Linked DNA regions of Homo sapiens: region 2 is linked to region 1. Evidence: promoter capture Hi-C in human tissues and cell types (Jung and others, 2019). All regions are on one chromosome and are shown on one strand. The core of a region is centred on a gene start or on the middle of the fragment in contact, and the rest is flanking DNA. Distances in the headings are between cores, read along the strand shown.

Region 1 (3,731 bases), core at 506-3,005:
CTTGGAAAAATTGTCTATATTCACTATGACTTATCTCCTCCAAATCACTTAAACACATACCAATCAGGTTTTTGTTTTCATCATTCCAAAGTAACTTTTACAGCCAAGGACAGTAGCGAACTTTACATCGCATATGCATTGTGAAGTTCTTGATCCTCATCTTACTTAACCTGTCAGCAGTATCTGACACAGGTGTCACTGGCTCCTCCCTGAGATGCTCTCTTTATTTGGCTTTTGGGACACCATATTCTCCCCATTCCTACTTTCCTCAATGGCCCTCCTCAGTCTCCTTTGGAAAGAGGAAAAAGAAACTTCATTATCTCCTGGATGTAGTACAAACAACTCAAGCTCAACATGTGCATACTGAACTCCATTTCCTTTTCCCAAACTTCGACATTTACAGCCATCCCCTTTCAGCTGATAGCAAGTTTATCCTTCCAGCTACTCAAACCAGAATCTTTAGAGCCATCCTTGACCCTTTTCCTCCTCTCACACTCAACATCTATCCATCAGAAAATTTTGTTGGTTCTACTTTCAAAATGCATACAGAGTCAGAGCATGTCTCATTACCTCCAATAGCTACCATACTAGTCTGAACAAACATCATTTCTCACCTGGGTTATTGAACAAACATCATTTCTCACCTGGGTTATTGATAGCATCCTAACGGGTCTTCCTGTTTCTTGGTTCCCCTATATTAGCAACACAGCAGTCAGAGGAGTCCTTTTAGAACTCAATCAGATCATGTCACGTCACTCCTCTACTTAAAATCCTTCAATGGGTCCCATTACACAAAGAGTACAAACCAGAGCCCTTACACTGGTCTACAAGTTCCAACATTTGACTCCTGTTATCTCTCTGACATCATATTCTAATATTACTGCTGTTGTCCTTTTGCTCCAGTCACACTGTTTGATTAGTAAATATTTATTAAACAAAGCAATCCTAGTCTCCAAAGAGATCATAGTTTATTGGAGGAAACAAGAGCCTATAAATGGTTACACACAGAAGGTAGTGATTATGGTTCTCCCTCACCTCCCATCCTAAACTTTGACAGGTGAAACTCCCCTGGATGTTGAAGGTTGAGGAATTTGCCAGGGTTCAGGGTGGTGTTGGAGGAGGCAGGGAGGAAGCAAGGACATTTCAGGCAGGAAGAACATTACATGCAAAGATCTAAAGATATGAATCAGCAACATATTTATGGAATTACAAGTAAAGTAGAAAGTTCTTGCTAAAACATCAAAAAATAAAGATTTGTGATTAGGGGGCCAGAATGTGGGAGGGAAAGAGAGATACAGTTCACACTTTAGACAGGAGCCAGATCATGAAATGTTTTCTCTTTGTTTGTTTCTTCCTTCACAGCTTTTGATATGCTCTTGGAGCAATTTATTAACCATATTTTTTAATGCATCTCCTGAACAGAGTCAAAGCAATACTTGGAAAGGACTCTGAATTTCCTGATTTAAAGATACAAAAGAAAAATCTGGAGTCACAATTAATTTGAGAAGGTAAAGGAGTGGGTGTGCTACTGTATCAAATTTAATTTGTACAAAATCATCATCTCTAGTAACATTATTTTTTCTAATCTACTGCGTTTAGACTACTTTAGTAAAGCTTGATCTCCCTGTCTATCTAAACACTGATTCACTTACAGCAAGCTTCAGGCTAGCATTGGTCATATTAATACCCAACAAATCCACAAGGTGTTAGTTGCACATGATTTTGTATAAAAGGTGAACTGAGATTTCATTCAGTCTACAGCTCTTGCCAGGCAAGGCAGCCGACCACAGGTGAGTCTTGGCATCTACCGTTTTCAAGTGGTGACAGCTACTTTTGAAATTACAGATTTGTCAGGACATGGAGGACAAAACTAGAGCTTCTCACTACTGTTGTGTAGGAAATTTATGCTTGTCAACCTGGCTTGTAAAATATGGTTAATATAACGTAATCACTGTTAGCAAGTAACTGACTTTATAGACCAATATGCCTCTCTTCTGAAATGGTCTTATTTTAAACAAATGTGAGCAAAAGAAAATATTTATGAGATTCTAAAAATGAAGACATAATTTTGTAGTATAGAATTTTCTTGGCCAGGAATGGTGGCTCATGCTTGTAATCCCAGCACTTTGGGAGGCCAAGGTCAGAGGATTGCTTGAGCCTGGAAGGTTGAAGATGCAGTGATTCATGATTATACCACTGCACTCCAGCCTGGGCAACAGAGCAAGACCCTGTCTCAAGAAAAGAAAAGAATTTTATTTTTCTTTTCAGACAAAAATAGACTTTAAAATAATAATGGAAGAACAAATATGATGATCACAATTATCAGAGTAATTACTTTATGACAGTCAGCAATAAGATTCTAATCTTTAAATATTCCTCTGCTTAAATCATTATATTGGAGTTTTGATCTATAATATATTCCCACCCTGACCCAAAAATTGAAGAAGGACAAGGAAAAATGTTGTTCCAAGAAACAAAGATGTAAGTAAAAAGGCATAAGGAAGGAAAAAAAACTTTTGAAGCAAAATGTGATTGAGGAGGATGAGCAGACCAATTATTTTTGGTTTGGTCAGCTTACATAATGATTATCGTTCTTTGGTTTCTCAGTTTCTAGTGGGCTTCATTGTTTGCTTCCCAGACCAGGATGAAGACACTCCAGTTTTTCTTCCTTTTCTGTTGCTGGAAAGCAATCTGCTGCAATAGCTGTGAGCTGACCAACATCACCATTGCAATAGAGAAAGAAGAATGTCGTTTCTGCATAAGCATCAACACCACTTGGTGTGCTGGCTACTGCTACACCAGGGTAGGTACCATGTTTTGCTGGAAGCAAGGGTGTTGAAGGTCTGTATTAGGCCGGTTTCATTAGTTTCTACTTTATCAATATTTTATGTATTCTAAGTAACAGCCATGAGTCCTTTAGCCAAGACTGTCTGTGTTGTGATTGGGGTTAATGACCACGATATCACTTAGATGTTTGGGCTTGGATTTGATTTGGGTAAATTTAGGAAAGCCTCAGATTTAATCTGATCAATTTGGTACTAGTCCAACTTTGCATCTACAGGGAAAAAGTATTTCTATGTTACGTTTTTACACATAGAGAGATAAACATGGAAACATACATATATTTAATCATAAAGGACCTATAATATTCTCATAAAGGCAATTTCTTTAACTGACACTACATCTTTGACACAAAATCACACCAAAATATGTCTCCAAGTCACATAAAAACATAGACAGCCACTTAAAAAAATTGTCTTCCTGGCCCTACTAAATACAAATGCCAAAAAACAGCCTGAGAACACAATCAATTCTTGCAGACTGTTAGAACAAAAATGAATCAGCAAACCCACTCCCTTCGTTATAGCATTGAGAAAACCAAGACATAGAGGCATCAGTTGCTAGTCTGTGTTTGCAGTTTCCTTGCATTAATACAAGTAGAGAAATAGTTTCCATGGTGCTTTCTTTTTTCTCTGCAGCACCCCTAATTATCTATGCAGAATTTCATTCTATAAACTAAAATTGAAAATGGCAACTTTTTAAATGAACGATACTTTATTTGACGGTAAATGAGTTTGATCAAACTCCATTTATTACACAATTTATTGCACCTTCTTGGGATATACATTTGGTAGGATGATATTAAAATAAACAGAAGCCCCAATTTCTCTACGCAGTATAAATAATTTTTCCACTGGAAAGTGCTACTACAAATAATTTCTACCTGGATT
Region 2 (3,731 bases), core at 814-3,313, 680 kb after region 1:
GCCCTGTGCCATATGATGACCTGTGCCATCTCAGGGCTCTAGAGAGCCCCCAGCTGCAAGAAAGCTCTCACCAGATGCACCCCTCAACATTGGACTTTCCAACCTCCAGAACTGTAAGAAATAAATTTCATTCCTTATAAATTACTCAGTTTCAGGTATTCTTTTTTTTTTTTCTTTTTTGAGATGGAGATTCACTCTGTCACCCGGGTTGGAGTGCAGTGTCATGATCTCAACTCACTGCAACCTCTACCTCTTGGGTTCAAACGATTCTTCTGCCTCAGTCTCCCGAGTAGCTGGTACTACAGGCATGTGCCACTACGCCCAGCTAATTTTTGTATTTTTAGTAGAGACGGGGTTTCACCATGTTGGCCAGGCTGGTCCAGCCAGGTGATCTCAGGTGATCCTCCCACCTCAGCCTCCCAAAGTGCTGGGATTACAGGCATGAGCCACCATGCCCGGCCCTGTTTCAGTTATTCTGTTATAAGTAACAGAAACTAGACTAAGACATTCAGCCACTACAGACAAGCTCTGGCCAGGTACACCAGCAAAACTGCTCTGCAATTCAGTGGAATGGAACCATACCTTTTTTAATGAGTCCTGAACCCTAGCCTTGGGGAGGGGACCCCATTGCAAGTTTATCCTTTCTTGGGCAATCTCCTTCAGCCATAGGGTGATATATATTATATACATATGTAATGTACATGGGTATATATACCCTAATTTACTAGCCTGGGTAAAATATGGAGGATAAAAAGACTGTGGTTAACATAAATGCAATTTTCCATTAAGTTCTACTACATAGTGTAACCCACGGTTCTCTAGGTTTCACCAGCTCATCAAAACAAATGAGTTTTAAAAGCCACCCATCCACATGAAAGAGAACAAAGCAATATGTCAAGGGAAGATGTGCAATAAACCTCAGAATTACTGTCGCTGTACAAACACACTTCTGCCATGGGACATATATTGTTCTGAATCATGCCCACACCTAATCAACAAGACTTCTGCAAAAACTCTTGGCCGGGCGCGGTGGCTCACGCTTGTAATCCCAGCACTTTGGGAGGCCGAGGAGGGCGGATCACAAGGTCAGGAGATCAGACCACGATGAAACCCTGTCTCTACTAAAAATACAAAAAATTAGCTGGGCGTGGTGGCGGGTGCCTGTAGTCCCAGCTACTCGGAGAGGCTGAGGCAGGAGAATGGCATGAACCCGGGAGGCGGAGCTTGCAGTGAGCCGAGATCATGCCACTGCACTCCAGCCTGGGCAACAGAGACTCTGTCTCAAAAAAAAAACAAACAAAAAAAACTATTTTGTTCAAGTCTGTCTGGGTGTCCCTAGAGGGGGACTTGTGCTTATCAGCAAATCTTGTCCCACTGGGCCCCCTGATGCTCCACCTCTTCTCTCTGGACTCTGACGTTTCCAATGACGGATCAACCAATATCACCATCTCCCTTCCACTAACTGCCTCTCTTTTCCGTGTCTTGACATGAGGAGCTCCCAAGATGACAAAAGTACAGAATGTTCTGCAAAGTGGGAGGAGATGGAAAGAAACTGTCCTTCTCTTCTGTGTTATACATGGTTAGATTTTCCAAGGCAGTGCTACACATGACCCAACATCTCATAGAGTTTTAGGCAGACAGACACTGAGCAAGATTCAGAACTAGTATTCTCTTCCAATGACCAAGTATTCCTGGGTCAAACTCATTATGCAATGGCTTTCTCTTGCCGTAGGGTCACATTCTCATTCCCCATGCATGTCCACCCAAATTTATCAGCCATGCTCAAATTGCAATTTAGGTTTAAGTGGGGACCTCTACTATAATACAGAAAGCCGAGGCAATAATATAAATTGCTAAATACAATGTAGAAATGAGGAAACACTAGGATGTCAGCTCCATAAGAGTAAAGATTTTTTATCTGTTTTGTTCTTTGTAAAGCAACAGCTCCTAAAACACTGCCCTCAATAACCCTTGGCAGTTGAATGAATGAATTCTGGTTCCATATGGCAAACCATTCACAGAAACAAAAGCCTGCTGTCCTACCTACACATTGCAAAGGCAGCTTAGCCCAGGTGAATGGGGCAAAGAAACACTTTCACCAGGTCTGTCTACACAATTGGTTTTCCCGTCTTTTCTAACATCAGCCCAGCGAGTTCTCCTTGCCGGAGGCTTTGCTCATCTCAGTGAGCAGAGTAAGACCAGCTCCTCTCCTGCCCAGGCAGGGCTCGCTGCTGCCGCCTGCTGAAGCTTGTGCAACCTCCCTCAAAGTACTGATTCATAAGCCTTTTCATCGCAGACCTTTTGAGAAGCCAGTGAAAATCTCAGCTCTTTCCCAGAAAAAATAAATTGCACGATGCACAAACATACACTTTGTACACTATTTCAAGAGATTAAAGAGGTCCCTGGAGGCCCACCATATCACACTAATGGTAGAATTTGAAGCAAACCAATCTAAAAAACAGGGAATTGTTTTCTTTTTTGTTCGATTAAAGAAATGTTCCATATGCACCCAAAAAAAAAAAAAAAAAAAAAGAGAGAGAGAGAGAAATGTGTAATCAACCAGCATGGACCTAACAGCCATCAACATTCTGCCATTCTCATTTCATCCATTCCCCTCAACTTTTAAAATTTTTATTTATGATAGAATGTCTTACAACAAATCTAAGATAGCTTTTAATTTTATCTGTAAATACTACAATGTTTCCAACTTATCAGGACTTTTTTTTTAACATTACCATTGAACCATTATTGGACCCAACAAAATTAATAGGACTTCCTTAATGTCATCAGATAGCCAAGCTGTTTTATATTTCTCCTGATTATCTCAAAAATAACTTTTTTACAGTACTGTAGTTGGTTCAAATTTGGATCCAGGACCAGACATTGAATTAGGTTGATATATTTGCTAAGATAGGAATTAGTTTATACTGCGTGAGTGGAAACCACAAACTGGTTATTTTATGAAGGTGGAGGAAAGAGGGAAGGTGTGTGTTGGGGGAAGGATGGGGAGTAAGTTAATGAAAAGTATCAAAAAATTTGAAAATTGGGGACGTTTTAGAATTCTTATTTGATCTATTCATTTCATAAAAATGACATTGATGCAAGTTCAGTCTTGAGCCCAATGGCCAGATAAAACTATACCCAGGAGATCAGAGGGAACATTCCTCCTCTGAATCTGATTGTGGATAAATTGTATGTAGCTTACCTAGCATTTACATTTGATTTTATTCCCTTCCTCTTCTTTGGCTAGGATAAAGAATTATCAGCTAAGTTAAATAGAAGACCCAGAATTCTCAGATATAGTTCATCTTGTTCTGTGGGGACCATGCTAGACTTATTAGGATCCTATTCACCTTTTGATATAGTAAACCCAAATATAATGGGATTACCTGCTGTCTTCCTGGTGTATCCAGCGCTGATGACTACCATCAGATTTCTTCTCCACCAAAACCACCTCCATGCCTGATCGGAGATTGGGACCTTGAACCCCCAAGACTAGCTGAGGAGCAGCATGGCTTATAATCTGCCCATCTCTGTATTCGAACTGCTGATGACAATGCTTGTGCAATTTACTATGCTTTGGTGAACAGCTGAGATAAAGAAATCTCTATTAGTGGCAGAAAAATGTCCCATGCACTTGATCATGCACTTGATGTGCTGGAGATTATAAGTTCTGTTGGTGAGAGCTCCAACGTGAAACACGTTAACTTGAAATGATAGACCATATCATT

Evidence for each region. The method cuts DNA at HindIII sites, captures the fragments that hold promoters and counts their contacts. A contact is called where the count stands out against the background at its distance.
Region 2: a fragment that was not itself captured here is called in contact with the fragment with the promoter of FSHB in region 1 in 1 of the 25 tissues and cell types used here (lymphoblastoid cells).

Annotation. Positions count from the first base shown.
Region 1 is chr11:30,229,259-30,232,989 of GRCh38, forward strand. It overlaps FSHB (follicle stimulating hormone subunit beta), which reads left to right and starts at 1,756. Exons shown (of 3, transcript NM_001382289.1): 1 at 1,756-1,790; 2 at 2,608-2,803. The coding sequence starts at 2,645. The region is part of intron 1 of ARL14EP-DT (ARL14EP divergent transcript); the gene reads right to left. The HindIII fragment of the contact is 20,904 bases long and covers 1-3,731 here.
Region 2 is chr11:30,912,122-30,915,852 of GRCh38, forward strand. DCDC1 (doublecortin domain containing 1) reads right to left here. Exons shown (of 39, transcript NM_001387274.1): 27 at 3,390-3,590. All of the region lies in intron 4 of LOC105376611 (a long non-coding RNA gene), which reads left to right. Among named protein-coding and RNA genes, the nearest start is that of LINC02859, 180 kb to the left of the region's middle. The HindIII fragment of the contact is 6,889 bases long and covers 1-3,731 here.